Linked DNA regions of Homo sapiens: regions 1, 2, 3, 4, 6 and 7 are each linked to region 5. Evidence: promoter capture Hi-C in 16 types of primary human blood cells and fetal thymus (Javierre and others, 2016). All regions are on one chromosome and are shown on one strand. Each heading gives the region's core, a stretch centred on a gene start or on the middle of the fragment in contact. The rest is flanking DNA. Distances are from core to core; before and after follow the strand shown.

Evidence for each region. The method cuts DNA at HindIII sites, captures the fragments that hold promoters and counts their contacts. A CHiCAGO score of 5 or more calls a contact.
Region 1: a fragment that was not itself captured here is called in contact with the fragment with the promoter of ZFAND4 in region 5 in 6 of 17 cell types (M0 macrophages, M2 macrophages, neutrophils and 3 more); the score reaches 14.0 in M0 macrophages.
Region 2: a contact is called between a fragment that was not itself captured here and the fragment with the promoter of ZFAND4 in region 5, in 12 of 17 cell types (M0 macrophages, M1 macrophages, neutrophils and 9 more). The highest score is 19.5, in M0 macrophages.
Region 3: a contact is called between a fragment that was not itself captured here and the fragment with the promoter of ZFAND4 in region 5, in 1 of 17 cell types (M1 macrophages). The highest score is 5.1, in M1 macrophages.
Region 4: a contact is called between a fragment that was not itself captured here and the fragment with the promoter of ZFAND4 in region 5, in 7 of 17 cell types (total B cells, neutrophils, M2 macrophages and 4 more). The highest score is 8.0, in total B cells.
Region 6: a fragment that was not itself captured here is called in contact with the fragment with the promoter of ZFAND4 in region 5 in 4 of 17 cell types (M2 macrophages, M0 macrophages, M1 macrophages and 1 more); the score reaches 9.2 in M2 macrophages.
Region 7: a contact is called between a fragment that was not itself captured here and the fragment with the promoter of ZFAND4 in region 5, in 2 of 17 cell types (M1 macrophages and erythroblasts). The highest score is 6.5, in M1 macrophages.

Annotation. Positions count from the first base shown.
Region 1 is chr10:45,304,381-45,307,080 of GRCh38, reverse strand. OR13A1 (olfactory receptor family 13 subfamily A member 1) reads left to right here. Exons shown (of 4, transcript NM_001004297.3): 4 at 2,647-2,700. The coding sequence starts at 2,659. Among named protein-coding and RNA genes, the nearest start is that of OR13A1, 9.9 kb to the left of the region's middle. The HindIII fragment of the contact is 4,346 bases long and covers 1-2,700 here.
Region 2 is chr10:45,238,192-45,240,891 of GRCh38, reverse strand. It overlaps the pseudogene CUBNP2. Among named protein-coding and RNA genes, the nearest start is that of MIR3156-1, 76 kb to the right of the region's middle. The HindIII fragment of the contact is 2,299 bases long and covers 120-2,418 here.
Region 3 is chr10:45,325,137-45,327,836 of GRCh38, reverse strand. No RefSeq gene overlaps it. Among named protein-coding and RNA genes, the nearest start is that of OR13A1, 11 kb to the right of the region's middle. The HindIII fragment of the contact is 5,116 bases long and covers 1-2,700 here.
Region 4 is chr10:45,270,149-45,272,848 of GRCh38, reverse strand. No RefSeq gene overlaps it. Among named protein-coding and RNA genes, the nearest start is that of OR13A1, 44 kb to the left of the region's middle. The HindIII fragment of the contact is 3,844 bases long and covers 1-2,700 here.
Region 5 is chr10:45,671,458-45,674,157 of GRCh38, reverse strand. It overlaps ZFAND4 (zinc finger AN1-type containing 4), which reads left to right and starts at 1,386. Exons shown (of 10, transcript NM_174890.4): 1 at 1,386-1,908. RefSeq lists a silencer at 1,084-1,803. The HindIII fragment of the contact is 4,202 bases long and covers 1-2,171 here.
Region 6 is chr10:45,286,332-45,289,031 of GRCh38, reverse strand. No RefSeq gene overlaps it. Among named protein-coding and RNA genes, the nearest start is that of OR13A1, 28 kb to the left of the region's middle. The HindIII fragment of the contact is 3,231 bases long and covers 1-2,700 here.
Region 7 is chr10:45,214,964-45,217,663 of GRCh38, reverse strand. LOC105378283 (a long non-coding RNA gene) reads left to right here. Exons shown (of 6, transcript XR_001747443.2): 3 at 1,890-2,007. Among named protein-coding and RNA genes, the nearest start is that of MIR3156-1, 52 kb to the right of the region's middle. The HindIII fragment of the contact is 188 bases long and covers 1,299-1,486 here.

The DNA of each region.
Region 1 (2,700 bases), core at 201-2,700, 370 kb after region 5:
GCTAGAATTCTAGGGAGGAGGACATGAGTCGGAAGTGCAGAAACCTCACACTGGGACATTGATGGAGAAAATCCAATTCTGTCCCTGGAGTTAAAGAGGAGTCACTCACTGGGCCATCATAAGAGCAAATAAAGTTACAGTTATTTCTTCAGATCCACAACTCAAACTCAGCGAAAGTAATTATTCACTCTTTTTGTCCCAAACAATAATGAAATCAGCTAAAGCATATTGTATTTATTACTTCCACTCAAGTTATTGAGCTGTTCTGACACCTTGTTGCTGGGAAGATACACAGATGGAACACCATCATTTCCATTGATTCTGATCATACCCCACGCTAATATAGCCTTATTGCTCTGAGTCATAGGGATTTTATGCTTGCCTATTCAAAAAACAGTTTTTACCTTATTAAAAGGTGATATGACCTGAGCTGGAGATGATGTTTGGTCATTTTGTGTAAACCTTTTAATATTTTAGTGGTAAATACATTTCTTGAATCTTGACAAAAACATAATTAAAATGAACATATTTAAAATGGACATCTTCCAAATGTTCATTTTTAAAACAAACATCTTCCAAATGTTCATTTTTAAAATGAATATCTTCGTTAACTTTTTTTTTTTTTTTTGAGACGGAGTCTCGCTCTGTCACCCAGGCTGGAGTGCAGTGGCGCGATCTCGGCTCACTGCAAGCTCCGCCTCCCGGGTTCACGCCATTCTCCTGCCTCAGCCTCCAGAGTAGCTAGGACTACAGGCGCCCGCCACCACGCCCGGCTAATTTTTGTATTTTTAGTAGAGACGGGGTTTCACCGTGTTAGCCAGGAAGGTCTCGATCTCCTGACCTTCTGATCCACCCTCCACGGCCTCCCAAAGTGCTGGGATTACAGGCGTGAGTCACCACGCCCAGCCTCTTCCTTAACTTTTAATGAATAAAGAGTTGAAAGGGAAAAACCAAATGTGCACTATGCTGATTTTATCTTGAGCTGTACAGAATGTGCAGTAACTTAAGAATATAAGTCATTCTGCTGTTATTCATACTAGCCTATTCTTTAGCATTATTTAAACACACATATTTGAGTGTCTACACACTGCCTGCTAGGCAGGGGGCTGGGTGCCAAGAAGGGATGTCCAGAGATAAACGGGCATATGTGTTAATCTTTTAGGGCACAGTCCAGTAACCTGATCAAGGAGTGACGTGTATTGTGTACTAGGATAGAAGTCAGTATCAGAGGAAACACAAAGGAAAGAGTGGTACTTTCTCCCCAGGGAAGGGATGCTCAGAAAGAGGGGGCTGATTATGTCCCTGGTTCATGAGAAAAAGGGCATTCCTGGCTCAGGGAGTGGGAAGAACAAAACCAAGAAATCCTGGAATGGCTTGGTGCATCAGCCAGTCTGTGAGTGCAGGGCATGGCTGGAGTTCTGGCTTTAAGATGAGTGGGAAGAAAGGCTGGAGAGGAGGTGGATCCAGGAAAAGTTGCTGGGAGCATTTATTCTTTTGGCAATGGGAAGCCATGGAAGAACTGTTGTAAGGAGGATTCTGTGTGATACATCTGCCTTTTAGAGAGGTCATTTTATAGAAAAAGTAGAAAATACAGACCAGCAAAAATTTAAAAAGTGAAAACAATCACTGTTCAAGCTCTGGTCTAGCACTCACCAGTGTTTTTCCTACAGGTGCATATACAAACATGCTTTTACATTTTATTTTTATTTTAAATTTTTCACTATCCTCAATATCAGTGGAAACAAATCTGCTTTTTTAATTTTTTTTTTAAAAATGAGATCCTATTGTACACATTATTTTAAATTTTTTTTCATTCTTTCCTTTTTTTAAAATTAAAACAATTTTTTTTGAGACAGTCTCACTCTGTCGCCCAGGCTAGAGTGCAGCATCGTGGTCTCAGCTCACCGAAACCTTGCCTCCCAGGTTCAAGCGATTCTCCTGCCTCAGCCTTCCAAGTAGCTGGGATTACAGACATCCACCACCACCGTGTCAGGTTAATTTTTGTATTTTTAGTAGAGAATGGGGTTTCACCATTTTGGACAGGCTGGTCTTGAATTCCTGGCTTCAAGTGATCTGCCTGCCTCGGCCTCCCAAAGTGTCATTCTCCTTTTAAAAGCATCAGTAAAACACTTCCAAAGCATTACTTTGATAATTAGACAGCATTTATATCAATTTACCATAATATACTCACGTTTAAGGGTATAGATTGTTTTAAATTTCCACTATTATAAATAGTGCTGCTCTGACACCTTCAGGATGCTTTTTATTATTCCTTAGGATACATTTCTGGAAGAGGAAGTTCCGGCTCAAATGGAATACATATTTTAAAAGGCCTGCATCTTTGCAGCCATTCTAATGCTAGTTAATATCATGCTTTTCTAACTTTGCCAGATCATGGATGATGAAGACTAGATCATGGATTTAATTTGCATTTGTTTGAGGTTGAATGATGCTTCATGAGTTTAACTGGCCAACTGTATTTATTTTTTATAAACTGAGTGTTCACGCCTTTTTTCTACTGTAATATTGGGGTGTTTATCTTAATCAATATGCCCTAATGCATCTCTATCTTTCATGCAGTGATGTGAGGTGTGGAAGAAACACGGGAGCAGCCTTCCTCAGGACACCTCTTGTTTATCTCTCTAGCTCTGAAATCACATGAAGCTGTGGATGGAGAGTCACCTGATAGTCCCAGAAACC
Region 2 (2,700 bases), core at 20-2,519, 430 kb after region 5:
GCTTCAGTAAGGTTTCCAAAAAGTTTGCTTGTTCCTCTACACCTGATCTGGAGTCGTATTTTTTGTTTTATTTTTTTTTCTCACTGCCTCTTTGATCAGGTCTTCATTCAAAATAAGCTTCCCAAGATGATTTGATCTTTGTAGCATAAACAAATGTACTGGTGTATGCAGCAGGCTTCTTTCCTTCTGTGGGAGGATTCTTTCCAGTGGGCTTCTGTTCAGCTGCTAGTTTCTTGGTAGCTGCAGCCTTTGTTCCCAACAAAACATCTTTTCTCACCTGCAACCCACCTCATCTGATTTGGCTTCTAGGGCTGCTGTCACCTTCTGCCCGGCCTGGTGAGGAAGGGTGTTCTGGCACATGGTCTTTGCCTATGGGTTTAGCTTCAACATGATTCTTGATGCAGTTTTATCATCCTGGAAAGCTCTCCCCTTTGGAATTCATCTAAATCCTTTATTAATCAATAGCCTTAACATGTAGTTTCATAAATAACACTCAGAGGAAGCTCATGCCTTTTCTAAAGGAATATTCCCATGACAGGAAACCAAAAGATGTATGTAGCAGGGAGGAAACGAAGAGACAAATACAGTATTCTTTGTGCCGGTCAGGTTACTCAACTTGGACCTACGTACCTCCCCCACCACGGAGATCCATATATTTATATGAAGTGTAAAGCAGAAAGAATGAGGAGAGTGGGATCTGGATGAAAGATGGAATAATCCCGTTAGGTTGGAGTCACAGTGCAACTAACTCTTAACTCACTCCAGCTTGAATGGACCATTATTGATCAGAGTCAACATTTGCCATTTGCCTGATAGATGCTGGGAAGCAAAGCCTTGCTTTCCAGCCATGGACAGTAAGAACTCTTCCTCCTCGCTGTCCTTCATTACTCCGTAGAATGGATCTGAAACTTCCTGTCCCATAAGCAAAGAAAGGAAACCACAGCTTAGGCCTGTAAAATGTAGCTCCGTCTGGCTCTCGGTGGGAAGACTGTGGGCATAGTTTATTGGCAGCTGGACCAGGAAGCCTCAGCATTCCATTCTTGTGAACTGCCGTAGGAACAGAAATGTCTGACTGAGGATTCTGTGTTACTACCAAGTGAGGGCCGAGCTCTAGACCATGCCTGGAATCTGCGATTGTTTTCATGCCTTCACCTCCCCTTCCAGGATCCTCTGATGTCGCAGGGATGCCCGCTGCTCTCGGTGGCCCCATTCCTCCTAGGAGACGAAAGTGAATAAGACAAGTTGTTGGCAGTGTCCGTGAAAATTAGTATCTCACTGCTCCTCTCAGAGCAACGCCATTTTAAAAGAGGACCCCTGGGTGAAAACACCCAAACTCAAGGGTATGGTGCTGGAAGGTCTTAAATATGGCAGCCCTCCTATCTACTAGTGGATAACTGGCTACTCTGTCATGGCAAGTCTACTTTATTTAAACACTTAGCAGAATAATCCCTGAAGCACTAGAAAGGCATTAGTCTCTCCCATGGGCTACTACATAGACCTAAAAGGAATCTCACCTGATCAACACAGCCCAGCAAGATTAGACTGTCTTAACTCTGTGACTTAAGATACCAGCAATTAACCAAATTTTAAATCATGGAATTACAAAGGGAAGAGAGGAACTTCCAGTGTTTTGAATACATGGATCAGTAAAATCAGCATTTCTACATGTCAGGCTGGTTCCAACATACATTGCCTGTGTAACGTTTCCTTTAGAAGCGTCGAGAGCCCTCCTGGAAGCAGGTCTAGTTGTGAATGCAGGGTAGGAGCCAGGCTGGGGGACAGAAAATGGTTGAATTCACAGTGTGGTTCTCTCTTCCCTCAAAACACCAACTCATTTCCTGTTTTTATATGTGTCTATTCAAAAATGAGGAGTTGAAACAAAAAAGCAACAAGGCCTCGGAATGTGTTTTTAAAACACGTTTAACAACAGTCAGAAGTTGTATAGATTTATAATTCTGTCCTTCACCCATACAGAAATTCCTTTTGTTCTGAACTTTATTATACTTTGCATTGTATTTTCTTCGTAGCCCCTTTACAGCCAAGTAATTTTCAATGGGAAACCCGTGTGCGCGCGCACTCATACACACACACACACACACTATGAAAAATGTATAATAGTTGACTGGAAACAGGGCAGGCAACATTGCCCCCACCCATCCCCACCCTTTAAAAATTCACTTTACCTACATTCTTCCAAATGTTTCCCCAAAAGCAAAGGCTGCAGGATCATAGCAAAAACTATTATATAAAAAAGCAGCCTGATGTTTTAATTGCTACAGGTTAACAGATATTTCTGAATCCAAATACAAATGTTTTTTGATCTACACATGGAACATTTTTCCCCTTTGCAAGTGAAGATGACTTCTGCATGTATTTTCAGAAAACCCTTCATTCTTATGTATATAAAAAGACAAAGCTTTTCCAAAAAGTGTCATCATTCAAATTGTCTCACAGTGTAATGTATATACATTGGAGAAGAAAGTGTAAGTTTAATAATGAATGACTCCTTCCTAAAGGTGAGAAATGGAAGTAACAGCAATTCACCATTACTTGGCAAGTACTCTGCTGCCAAACCCTGTCTTCTCTCAAAATAATGAACTATACCTATGATTTAAGAGTAATAGTGTAATTTCGGATCGTGGATATGAAATCATCTGGACCTCATCACCCTCTGGTAAGACATTTGTACTTTGTACGGGA
Region 3 (2,700 bases), core at 139-2,638, 350 kb after region 5:
GAAACTAGATCCCTTCCTTCCACTGTATACAAAAATTAACTCAAGATGGGCTAAAGACTTAAATGTAAGACCTAAAACCATAAAAACCCTAAAAGAAAACATAGGTAATACCATTCAGGACATAGGCATGGGCAAAGACTTCATGACTAAAACACAAAAAGCAATGGCAACAAAAGCCAAAATTGACAAATGGGATCTAATTAAACTAAGGAGCTTCTGCACAGCGAAAGTAACTACCATCAGAGTGAACAGGCAACCAACAGAATGGGAGAACATTTTTGCAATCTATCCATCTAACAAAGGGCTAATATCCAGAATCTACAAAGAACTTAAACAAATTTACAAGAAAAAACAAACAATTCCATCAAAAAGTGGGTGAAGGATAAGAAAAGACTCTTCTCAAAAGAAGACATTTATGCAGTCAACAAGCATAGGAAAAAAAGCTCATCATCACTGGTCATTAGAGAAGTGCAAATCAAAAACACAATGAGATACCATTTCATGCCAGTTAGAATGGCCATCATTAAAAAGTCAAGAAACAACAGATACTAGAGAGCATGTGGAGAAATAGGACCACTTTTACACTGTTGGTGGGAGTGGAAATTAGTTCAACCATTGTGGAAGACAGTGTGGTGATTCCTCAAGAATCTAGAACTAGAAATACCACAATAGCAAAGACTTGGAACCAACCCAAATGCCCATCAATGATAGACTGGATAAAGAAAATCTGGCACATATACACCACAGAATACTATGCAGCCATGAAAAATGATGAGCTCATGTCCTTTGCAGAGACATGGATGAAGGTGGAAACCATCATTCTCAGCAAACTAACACAAGAACAGAAAACCAAACACCACATGTTCTCACTCATAAGTGGGAGTTGAACAATGAGAACACATGGACACGGGTTGGGGGGGTATCACACACTGGGGCCTGTTGGGCTATGGGGGGCTGGGGAGGGATAGCATTAGGGGAAATACCTAATGTAGATGACAGGTTGATGGGTGCAACAAACCACCATGGCACATGTATATCTATGTAACAAACCTGCACATTCTGCACATGTACCCCAGAATTTAAAGTATAATAAGAAAAATAAAAATAAATAAGTTAAAAGAGATTAAAAAAATAAAAGAGAACATTTGCCACATTCAGTCTTTCTAGATGGAAAGAGGTTGCTGACATATGATAGAATTAGAAAATCACACATCTTGTAAATTCTCATTTGTTTAAAAAGAAATCATACAAATTAGATGTTTTTTGGAGATGACTTTTTAAAATAGAGTCGTTAGATCACCTCTGTAAGGGATATGTCTATATCTGTTCAGTGGGTTAGGGGACATGGATCTGGAAAGCCTGAGAAGAAAAAGAAGGTTCTATACCAGACTTGTGATATTTAGACATTTTCATATTCTATCCATTGTTTTGTGTGCATTTTATTCCTCACTATTGTATATATAGTTGACAATGCTAAACTTTTTTGTGTATTCTTTCTATGTGTTCCGAATGCCTAATATATGTCAAAATTAGCGGTAGTAAAATAATATTTTGTAAATATCTTTTTGCTAAAATTCATATGAAATGTTGTTTTTGGAGGGGAATGGCCAAACTACCTGTTGAGTAATACTCATCGTGTTTGTGTCCTGGTTCAGGGGAGGAGGAAGGAGGGGAAAGTGCAGAGAGCTCTATGCCGCTGTGTTTACAGTGAGGCAAGATTAACCATTATCTCTTATGTCTGTGCATTTTGTTTTACTTATCTGTTTATGTAGTGTATATAAAGGACAAACGAGTCCTAATTTACAACATCTAGTCTTTTTAGATGTTAAAGAGGTTGCCAGTGTATAACAAAAGTAGAGTTAGTAAACTAATATATTTTGTATATTTTGTTTTAAAATTCCTAGGAAAGATTGTCTTCCTATCTTTGAGCATTCTTGCGCACTGAGTTGATGGAGATGGGAGGGATTCTAAGCTAGGATGTTCTTATTTGGAAGACTCTTTCAAATTATAACTATGGTTACATGTATGCAGTTTATTCGAGACTGCTGTGTATATAGTGGACAAATTAACTCCTTACTTGAAACACCTAGTTTATCTAGATGTTTAGAAGTGCCTGATGTACGTTAAATGTAGAGGTAATAAAATACCACTTTGTAAATATCTTTTTGCTAAAATTCATAGGAAATACTGTCTTTTAGAAATTTAATTGTTAAGCCACCTTTGTGAGCAGTATAGTACTGTCTATACTTGTTCAATGGTTTAGAGGAGGTGGGAGGGAAGAAAAATATGTGACTGACTTATTTCACTAAGCCTAATGTCTTTAAGTTTCATTCATGTTGTGGCATGTGTCAGAATTTCCTTCCTTTTTAAAGCTGAATAATATTGCATTGTATAGATATATTACCTTTTATTTATCCATTTATCCATCAATAGAAACTTGGGTTGCTTCCATATTTTAGCTATCATGAATATTGCTGCCATCAACATGTTGAGTTCCTGTATTCAACTCTTTGGGTAATACCCAGAAGTGAAATTGCTGAATAAGTATGGTAATTCTCTGTTAAATTTTTGAGGAGCTGCTGATTCATACTTTTACGTATAAAATATTAGACCTTAAATGTATTATGTAAAAACACTAAGTATTTTTAACATTCTAGAGTAAAGAAGGTGTTTCTTAGCAAGACAGAAAAGCTGAAACCC
Region 4 (2,700 bases), core at 95-2,594, 400 kb after region 5:
CCCTAAATCTTGAAGTTTTTTCTTTTTTTCTAAAAGTTTTACAATTTTATGTTGTACATTTAAGAACATAAACTATTTTTGAGTTAGCTTTTGTATAAAATATGAGACAGGTGAAGTTCTTTTTTGTGTATGTATGTGTGTATGTGTGTGTGTGTGTTTATGTGTGTGTGTGAGTGTGCCTATAAAAGTACAATTGCTCTAGCACCAATTTGGATGCCCTTTATATCTTTCTCTTGTCTGATTGCTCTAGCTAGGACTTTCAGTAATATGTTGAATAACGGTTGTGACAGTGGGCAGCCTTGTCTTGGTCTGCATCTTAGAAGACAAATTTTCAGTTTTTCCTCATTTAGTATGATACTACCCTGTGGGTGTCTGTTATTTATGGCTTTTATTATGTTAAGGTATATTCCTTATATAGACAGTTTTTTAAAGGGTTTTTATCATGAAGGATGTTAAAATTTTATCAAATCCTTTTCAGCATCAATTGACATGATCATATGTTTTTGTCCTCCATTCTGTTAATATGATGTGTCACATTAATTGATTTGCATATTTTGAACCATCCTTGTATCCCTGAGATAAATACTACTTCATCATGAGAAAAGATCTTTTTAATGTGCTGTTGAATTCAGTTTGCTAGTATTTTGTTGAGGATTTTTGCATCAATATTCATCAGACATATTGGCTGTACTTTTCTCTCTTTTTTTGATGCATTTTTGTCTGGTTTCATATCAAGGTAATACTGGCCTGGTAGAATGAGTGTGGAAGTATTCCTTCCTCCTCTATATTTTTTGAAATAGTTTGAATAGGATTGGTATTTGTTCTTCTTTAAATGTTTGGTAGAATTCGACTGTGAAGCCATCAGGTCCTGGGCTTCTCTTTTTTATATTTATTTATTTATTTATTTTATTATACTTTAAGTTCTAGGATACATGTGCACAACGTGCAGGTTTGTTACATAGGTATACATGTGCCATGTTGGTTTGCTGCACCCATCAACTCGTCATTTACATTAGGTATTTCTCCTAATGCTATCCCTCCCCCAGCCCACCACCCCTTGACTGGCCCCAGTGTGTGATTTTCCCTGCCCTGTGTCCATGTGTTCTCATTGTTCAACTCCCACCTATGAGTGAGTACATGTGGTGTTTGGTTTTCTGTCCTTGTGACAATATGCTTAGAATGATAGTTTCCAGCTTCATCCATGTCCCTGCAAAGGACATGAACTCATCCTTTTCTATGGCTGCATACTATTCCATAGTGTATATGTGCCACATTTGCTTTATCCACTCTATCATTGATTGGCATTTGGGTTGGTTCCAAGTCTTTGCTATTGTGTATAGTGCCACAATAAACATACATGTGCATGTGTCTTTATAGTTGCATGATTTATAATCCTTTGGGTATATACCCAGTAATGGGATTGCTAGGTCAAATGGTATTTCTAGTTCTAGATCCTTGAGGAATCACCACACTGTCTTCCACAATGGTTGAACTAGTTTACACACCCACCAACATTGTAAAGGCATTCCTATTTCTCCACATCCTGTCCAGCATCTGTTGTTTGCTCACTTTTTAATGATTGCCATTCTAATTGGCCTGAGATGGTATCTCATTGTGGTTTTGATTTGCATTTCTCTGATGACCAGTGATGATAAGCACTTTTTTCATACGTCTGCTGGCTGCATAAATATCTTCTCCTGAGAAGTGTCTGTTCATATTCTTTGCCCACTTTTTGATGGGGTTGTTTTTTTCTTGTAAATTTAAGTTCTCTGTAGATTCTGGATATTAGCCCTTTGTCAGATGAGTAGATTGCAAAGATTTTCTCCCATTCTGTAAGTTGCCTGTTCACTCTGATGGTAGTTTCTTTTGCTGTGCAGAAGCTCTTTAGTTTGGTTAGATCCCATTCATCTATTTTGGCTTTTGTTCCCATTGCTTTTGGTGTTTTAGTCATGAAGTCTTTGCCCATGCCTATGTCCTGAATGGTATTGCCTAGGTTTTCTTCTAGGGTTTTTACAGTGTTAAGTCTTAAAGTTAAGTCTTTAATCTATCTTGAGTTAATTTTTGTATATGGTGTAAAGAAAGCATTGAGTTCCAGCTTTCTACATATGGCTAGCCAGTTTTCCCAGCACCATTTACTAAATAGGAAATCCTTTCCCCATTTCTTGTTTTTGTCAGGTTTGTCAAAGATCAGATGGTTGTAGATGTGTGGTGTTATTTCTGAGGCCTCTGTTCTGTTCCATTGGTCTATATATCTGTTTTTCTACCGGTACCATGCTGTTTTGGTTACTGTAGCCTTGTAGTATAGTTTGAAGTCAGGTAGCGTGATGCCTCCAGCTTTGTTCTTTTTGATTAGGATTGTCTTGGCTATGTGGGTTCTTTTTTGGTTCCATATGAACTTTTAAGTGTTTTTTTTTTTTCCAATTCTGTGAAGAAAGTCTGTGGTAGCTTGATGGGGATAGCACTGAATCTATAAATTACCTTGGGCAGTATGGCCATTTTTATGATATTGATTCTTCCTACCCATGAGCATGGAGTGTTCTTCCATTTGTTTGTGTCCTCTTTTATTTCATTGAGCAGTGATTTGTAGTTCTCCTTGAAGAGGTCCTTCACATCCCTTGTAAGTTGGAATCCTAGGTATTTTATTCTCTTTGTAGTAAATGTGAATGGGAGTTCACTCATGATTTCGCTCTCTGTTTGTCT
Region 5 (2,700 bases), core at 137-2,636:
ATGGGGAGAGAATACGTAAAGACCCTTATCAACTATCTGGCACTTGAAGAATGGCAGATGATAATGATGATGATGTTGTAAAGAATGAATGACTTGGCCAGGTAATGGAGCTTCTGGTATTGGGAGGCAAGGCTTTAAACACACCTGCCTGACTCCACGGTCCATGCTGTCAATTCTCCAGTGTGAATGAAGTGGGCAGGCAAGGGTGAGAAACGCTAAGGTTTTTACTCAGTAAGTCTCCATCACAGGCCCTATTCTAGGCTCAGGAATGCAAAGATGATTACCATCATAGCTCTGTCCTCAAAGGTCTCCAATCTATTTAGCATTAAGCATATGTGGAGTTTCAGAAGGAACCAACGGCGAGACTGGTGAATCAATGCCCAGTGCCTCACCATACTCCCCCAGTGTATGCTCAATAGTTCGTTGAACTGTGGAGATAAGTTGGTGGGTAGGGTCTCAGAAGAATGAGAGAGGACAGGAGACACAGATTAGATGTTTAGTTTCATATTAGACTGGCTCCTCTGAGCCAGAAGTCGAGGATGAGTGAACCCGCAGTGGGAGTGAGATGACATTCTTTGTCAGCTGAGTAACCCACTTAGTGAAGGAGGTTCACGGAGTTGGAAAATCGGTAGGGGGAACGGAACGAGGCAGTGGGCTCCCATGTTAGGTTGAAAGGCAGGTGTTGGCTTGAAGCCAGTTACTGTTTACACCGCAGCTCAGCAGCTTGGAAACTGGAGCAGGAGGTGTGGCTGGGCTTACCCAACGCTGGGATTTGAGCCCAGGGTGCCTACTCCATTGCCTGGCCTACAGTTCTCAGTAAATTGTATGAGGACTACAGAAAGTTATCTGTTTTCGCCTTTGTCTTCAAGCAGGCACGGTAATGCCCCCATTTTCCAGATGAGGCAATTGAGGCCAGAAACATTAGGGGACGGTGAAGCCTAAAGCAGATTTGTTAGGACAGGCCGGCCCAAACGCACCAGGAGCGCCCCTCACTCTGGAGAGGCCACCGACTGGACAGCGTCTGCCTGTATCGCCTATCTCCAGCAAATCAGGCGCCTGGAAGAGGATCCCCGGTGGGTCTCACGGAGGGCGGCTCCGGCTTCAACCCCGCCGTTCCCAGCAGGCCATGCGGCTGCCCTCCAGACGCCCGCGTGGGCACGAGTCAGGGGTCCAGTGTTGCTAGTAATAAAAGATCAACATCCGGGCCTCGTAACTCACAACCTCCAGCGAATGCCAAGAAGGCCCCAGGGCCCTGGCGCCCCGGCAACCGCCCACGTCCGGGGGCCAGGCCTGCCCCCGCCCGCGCTGATTGGAGGGCAGCGAAAGCGCCGTCCAGCGATTGGTAGGTGGTGTCACAAAGGGGCGGGGCGCGGCGGCAGCGGAGCGTTGTCGGCCAGTGCCTTCCGTGAAGTTGCTCGCCGGGTCGTTGGGCCCTGTCGACCTGTAGGCGGGCGAGCGAGCCAGCGGACAAGACTGCGGGTGAGGCTGAGCTAGCGAGCGGCCGGCAGGGGGGGCGCCCGGGCTGCGAGCCGCTGAGCCCAGCCGCGCTGCCGCCGCCGGCCGTCGTGGGGCCGGAATGGCGCAAGGCCGGAGTGGCGCGGGCGCTCGGCGCTGGGCTGCCGGGTAGAGTCCTGTCCCCGCCCCTCGCCTTGCGGCCTGACGCCGGCCGCTGCTGCCCGGGGACCGGAGCGGCGGGCCGCCTTTGCCCAGGACACACGCTCTGGCGTTTGTTCCTTTGGGCGTGACGCCAGCTTCAACGGGTACGCGGCTTTCCCGACGGGTGCTGATCTCCGAGTCGCTGTTGTCACGCGGACTGCTGTCCTCCAGATTCAGGCCGGTGGGTCTGGGGAGCCCGGATTGGTCTTGGAGGAGCAACGGCTGCGCAGGTGACTCGGTGGCCTCAAGTGTGTAGGTACCTGGATGGCGCGAGGAGATGCTGGCTCTGAAATACTTCCCAATTCCGCTTGCAGATGAACTCCGGACTAGAGTTTAGGCTACAGACAAGTTAGGCGGTTGATGTGATTCTGTAGCTCGTATTTCGAACTTTAGGGATGTTTTGATGTATCAGTAAATGTAGATCTGTGTCACAGTTTTAATGGCAGCTTCACATTCCGGATATCTTTATGTTGGGGAAAATGTTTCAAAGGTAACTGCTCTTCTGTAGCTAAGCTTCTTTAGAGCAGAGGTTGGAGAAAATTCTGAGTTACTGAAATTACGTATTCAGCGCTATTGCCTGTTTACCTTTAACTTCCATTTCATCCTTGGAGTTGTGTTTTTAGAAACTTTTCAGAAGAAATGAGAGAAATGCTTTGGGAATTGATTTTTTTTTTTTTTTTAAGTTCTAGGGTACATGTGCACAACGTGCAGGTTTGGTACATAGCTATACATGTGCCATGTTGGTTTTCTGCACCGACTAACTCGTCATTTATATTGCGTATTTCTCTTAATGCTATCCCTCCCCCCATCTCACTCCCCACGACAGGCCCCAGTGTGTGATGTTCCCCTCCCTGTGTCCAAGTGTTCTCATTGTTGAGTTCCCATCTATGAGTGAGAACATGGCGGTGTTTGGTTTTCTGTCCTTGTGACAGTTTGCTGAGAATGATGGTTTCCAGCTTCATCCATGTCCATGCAAAGGACATGAACTCATCCTTTTTTTATGGCTGCATAGTATTCCATGGTGTATATGTGCCACATATTCTT
Region 6 (2,700 bases), core at 143-2,642, 390 kb after region 5:
CCAAACCAAGCAAACCTATTTAAACCTGTACTTGTATCATGGCTGTGTAATTGTTACAGGGAAGGAGCAAAGAATTGGGAGCAATAGTCTAATCTGCCACAATAACCCTTGTAAACCAAAAAGTATCTGAGATAGGACTCAATCAATTTAGAGGTTTATTTGGCCAAGATTAAAGACCTTGACCCATGCACAGCCTCAGGAAGTCCTAAAAACATGTGCCTAAAGTAGTTGGGTTACAGCTTGGTTTTATACATTTTAGGGAGAGAGAAGTTACAGGCAAAGACATAAATCAATATACATAAGGTATATGTTGGTTTGGCCCAGAAAGGTGAGACATCTTGAAGCAAAGAGGGTGGAGATTCATGGTCATAAGTGGATTCAAAGATTCTCTGACAGGCAGTTGGTTGAAAGAGTTAAGCTCTGCTTTAAGAATTGAATTCAGCATAAAAAAATGCTTGAGTTTGTTAGAAGCATTTGAACCAGAGCAACTCCATCTTGAGTAGCAGCTGGGTAAAATAAGGCTAAAACCTATAGGCTGCATTCCCAGATAATTAGGCATTCTAAGACACAGGATAAGATAGGAGGCTAGCACAAAGATACAGCTCATAATGAGCTTGCTAATAAAACTTGCAGTAAAGAAGCTGGCTAAATCCCACCAAAACCAAGATGGCGATGATAGTGACCTCTGGTTGTCCTCACTGCTACACTCCCACTAGTGCCATGACAGTTTACATCCCTACATTGTAAACTGTCATGGCACTAGTGGGAGTGTAGCAGTGAGCTGGGCACATGCCTTTAATCCCAGCTACTCGGGACGCTAAGGCAGGAGTGTTCCTGGACCAAACTGAGGGTTGGGCTGCTATTTCCTGCTGCCAATAATGAGATGCAGATGAACTCGGGAGGAAGAGAGTTTTATTTTTTGCAACCAGTTACAGGGAGAAGGCCCAGAAATTTTCACCAGACCAACTCAAAATTACAAAGTTTTTCAGAGCTATATACCTTCCAAGCTATATGTCTACATGTAAGTGTTCCATGTGTCTTTTCATGCTTAGATCTGAGGCTACCTGTGGCATGTTCTTTTCATGGCTGAAGGTCATCCTGAAGACCTTCTTCTACAGCCTCATTAAGTTTACTTAATCTAAATGGGTCTAGGTGCTCGGGTGATTACCCTTATCTTGTCTCTTGCTAAATCACGGGGGTTTGGGAAGTTACTTCAGACCTCCAATAAACTTGATTGTGGAAGCCTGTGGAGTTTCTTCAGACCCCTAATAAAACTTGTTTAATCCTAAGGGGGTCCTGCTAAGAATTTCTTTGTTACTTTATCATGCTTTAAGGCCCAGGAAAGGCCTAGGCAAAACTCTTGATGGACTTTTGCTACATTCCAGCCTTTGTATAAGGGCACTGGCTTTTTTAGCTTTTTATATTTAACTTAACCACTCAGTCAGTACTGAAACAGTTGTGATGGATAACAGAGCAGGAGCATCACCATCTTGGACAAGCACCACCATTTTAAAGTTCACCTTGATTAAAAACTGCCTAAATCCAAAAAGCATCAGCCTAATGGCTAAGGTCAGCATGACCATAAACCACAAATGACATCTCTGACCAGAAACATTCCAACCATAAGGTAAACTCCTCCCAGACCAGAGACATGCCAGCCCTGAGATAACCTCCCCTCTGGCTGGAGAGATGTCAGCCCTGAGATAACCTCCTCTCCAACCAGAGATATTCCAATCCCACAATAGACTTCTCCTCACCCTAAAACCAATAAATACTCTTAGTCTGTAAGAGAGAGTGTTCCTGACTGAAATCGGTCAGAAGGCCCTCTCAGGTTTATTCTCCAAAATAAACCTGTCTTTGACTGTTGAGCCACTTTTTGTGTTTCTTTCCTCTTTCTTTAACTCTTACATTTGGTGCTGAAACCTGGGATGGGTGTTGGGGGTAGAGGCTGTGTTGCAACCCAGGAAGCAGTGGACAGCAGCTGCTCATCCCACTGCACCCACCCCATCTTGTCTCCTTTTTTTGAGCAATTTTTGAGCAATTTGTGTGGGGAGGACAATTAATCTGAAGGGGACTTCAAGGCTCAGGCTGGGGCTACCCTGCAGTGAGCCCTCAAAGCCCTCAGGTGCTGCAGACCCTGGTGGACTGAACAAAGGAGGATGAATGCAGGAATAAAGACAAAGACAAAAGAGTATGTTTGGATGAAGGGGTCAGGGGGCTCCTTGCTTCTAGTGAATAAGTGCCCTGGGCTTCTAGAGCCCTTCATATTTATTGAGTAAAAGAGATATGGAGCAGGGGGCAGTTGTTGGTCAGCTGCTTGATTTAGTGCAGGCCTGCATGACTGCCTTCTTAGAACAGTAGGCTCTAGATGTTCCAGTAGATAACTTTAAGGGGCATGGCACCCAGGAGCACAGCACCAGGGAGTGATTGCCCTCAGCATACCTTCTGGCAGCAGGTGCAGATGTGAGTTTGCCCACATCCTGCATTCATGATAAACAGTTTGCTGTTTGATCATATAGCCTCCAGTGGAATGCTGAGTTGGTCATGACCCTCAGGCTCTTGGCTCCCAACATCTCTCCCTTTCTGTTTTTGCATTAATTGAATGAATGTAACACCAGGCTGGACAGCTCTCATTTTCCAACTTGTGGACCATCTAATTTTACAGACTGTGAACAGAAAACAAGAGACATAACAGCATTA
Region 7 (2,700 bases), core at 143-2,642, 460 kb after region 5:
TTGGGGAAATATTGGTTCATGTATCAAACAGAATAAACGCGAATTACATTAAATGGTAGTTTTAGTTATAGTACCCATACCTCATAAATATCCTTTTTATTTCATCTATTTCTCTGCATATACATTAATTATTCCTTTGGACTCTGTGTAGCTTATAATTTTAAGGGTGAGGTCAAATGAAAGGCACACATCAGAACGGGCAATTACTTGCAACGGGGGTTTGGCCTCATGGTTTTTCAGGACATAGTGCAGACCAGAGAATGGTAATATGGTTTGCAATCTCAATATTTGAATGGTAGTCTATGTAACTTGGTTTTCTTAACAGCTGTAAGTGAGGCCGGGTGCAGTGGCTCACACCTGCAATCCCAGCCCTTTGGGAGGCCAAGGTGGGTGGATCACCTGAGGTCAGGAGTTTGAGACCACCCTGACCAACATGGTGAAACCCCGTCTCTACTAATAATATGAGAATTAGCTGTGCATGATGGCCCATGCCTGTAATCCGAGCTGCTTGGGAGGCTGAGACAGGAGAATCACTTGAACCCGAGAGATGGAGGCTACAGTGAGCTAAGATCACGCCATTTCACTCCAACCTGGGTGACAAGAGTGAGACTCTGTTTCAAAATAAATGAACAAATAATAAAACAGCTGTAAGTGCTTAAGTCTTTAGGCCGTGTCAAAGATACCTATATGATTTATTATATATTTGTATTCTATAAAGTTGTTCACCCTTTGTTAGGAGGATGAAAATAATAGATAATATGATCGAAATAACATGCCATATATGCATGGGGTGTATTAATACACACACACATTTACTATGTCCCAGGCATTGTGCTAAGCCCTCTGTATGGATTAATCTTTCAAACCTCACAGTTTAATTGTTATTATCTAATAGGTAAGGAAACAGATTTAGAGAGCTTCATTAACTTGCTCAAAGTCACCCAGAAAATAAGTGGTAGAGCCCAGATTTGAACCCACACCAGCAGACTTCAGAAGCAGTGTTCTTAGCTTATCCTGTTTCGCCTTACTCATTTCTGACAGTCATATACACATACCCTGTGGAAGAGAAGAAGATGAACAGCTAATTCAGCGAGCACGCTGAGTGCCTGTGGCCATCTGGTCATGTTCTAGAAGCTATGGTAGCTACCCTGTCTGGGCTAATGATTCTGTATCAATTTAGGAATGCATTCAGGGACGCAACCTACCTATCTTGATACCATTTGAACCAAGGAAACAGGAACCTTCATCTTCTGAAAATACTTACACATAGTTTTTAAAAAATCCTACTCCAAAAAGCTTTACTGAAGTATTCACATAGATAAGTGCATATATGACAGTACAAGTTGACAGATTTTCAAAGCAAGAAACGTTAGTAGGTTGGGAGCTCCTGCTCTTCCCAATCACTCTCCCTTTAAGTCATGAGACTGCCAGCATCGTGAGCTTATACTGGTAGTTCCAATGGAAATACATAACAGACTGCAAAGCTTTTATTTAACTCCTTCTATGCCTCATCTGGGCCTTCTCCCTTCCTCTCAGAACCCTGCCTCTCACAGATTTTGGTGATGATAGAATTAGAACATCTCACAATCACGTGTTTGGTACCCAACACACAATTAACAATACTAATTTTACTAATGTCAGTATTGCTAAAAACAATTGTTTTATGCATATGCTATCTTCATTCTCCCTCTTTGAAAAAAAATAGGCTTTTTTTTTAAGAGCACTTTTTGATTTACAGAGAACTGGAGCAGGAAGTACAGATTCACATCTCTCCTCCATCTCCCCTTCCTAGTTTTCCATATTAACATCTTGCATTGGTGTGTTACATTTGCTATGATTGCTGAACCAATATTGATGCATTATTGTTTTTATTTTTATTTTTGAAACAGCGTCTCGCTCTGTCACCCAGGCTGGAGCGCAATGGTGCGATCTCGGCTCACTACAACTTCTGCCTCCCAGGTTCCAGTGATTCTCCTGCCTCAGCCTCCCAAGTAGCTGGGATTACAGGTATGCGCTATCACGCCCAGCTCATTTTTTTTTTTGATTTTTAGTAGAGACGGGGTTTCACCATGTTGGCCTGGCTGTTGATGCATTATTATTAACTAAAGTTTATAGCTAACATCAAGATTCACTCTATATAGTATAGTTTTATGGGTTTTGACAAATTAACATCATGTATTCACCATTACAGTATCATATGGAACAGTTTCACTGCCCTAAAAATCCTCTCAGCTCTACCTCTTCATCCCCTCTCCCTCATTATCTACCTCCTAAATCTCAGACAACCACTGAAATATTACAGTTTGCCTTTGTCTCTATAATTTTACCCTTTCCAGAATGTCATATAGTTGGAATCATACAGTATAAGGTCTTTACAGATTGGCTACTTTTGCTTAGCAATATGCATTTAAGATTCCTCCATGCCTTTTGTGGTTTGATAACTCATTTCTTTTTAGCAGTGAATAATACTCAGTTGTCTGGATGTACCACACTGTGCTTATCCATTCACCTGTTGGATGACATTTTGGCAGCTTTTAAATTTGGACAATTATGAATAAAGCTGTTGTAAACATTCTTGTGCAGATTTTGGGTGAATACCTAGGAATGTGATTACTGGATCATGTGATAAGACTATGTTTAGCTTTGGAAGAAACTATCAAACTGTCATCTCAAGTGGCTGTACTATTTTGCATTCTACCA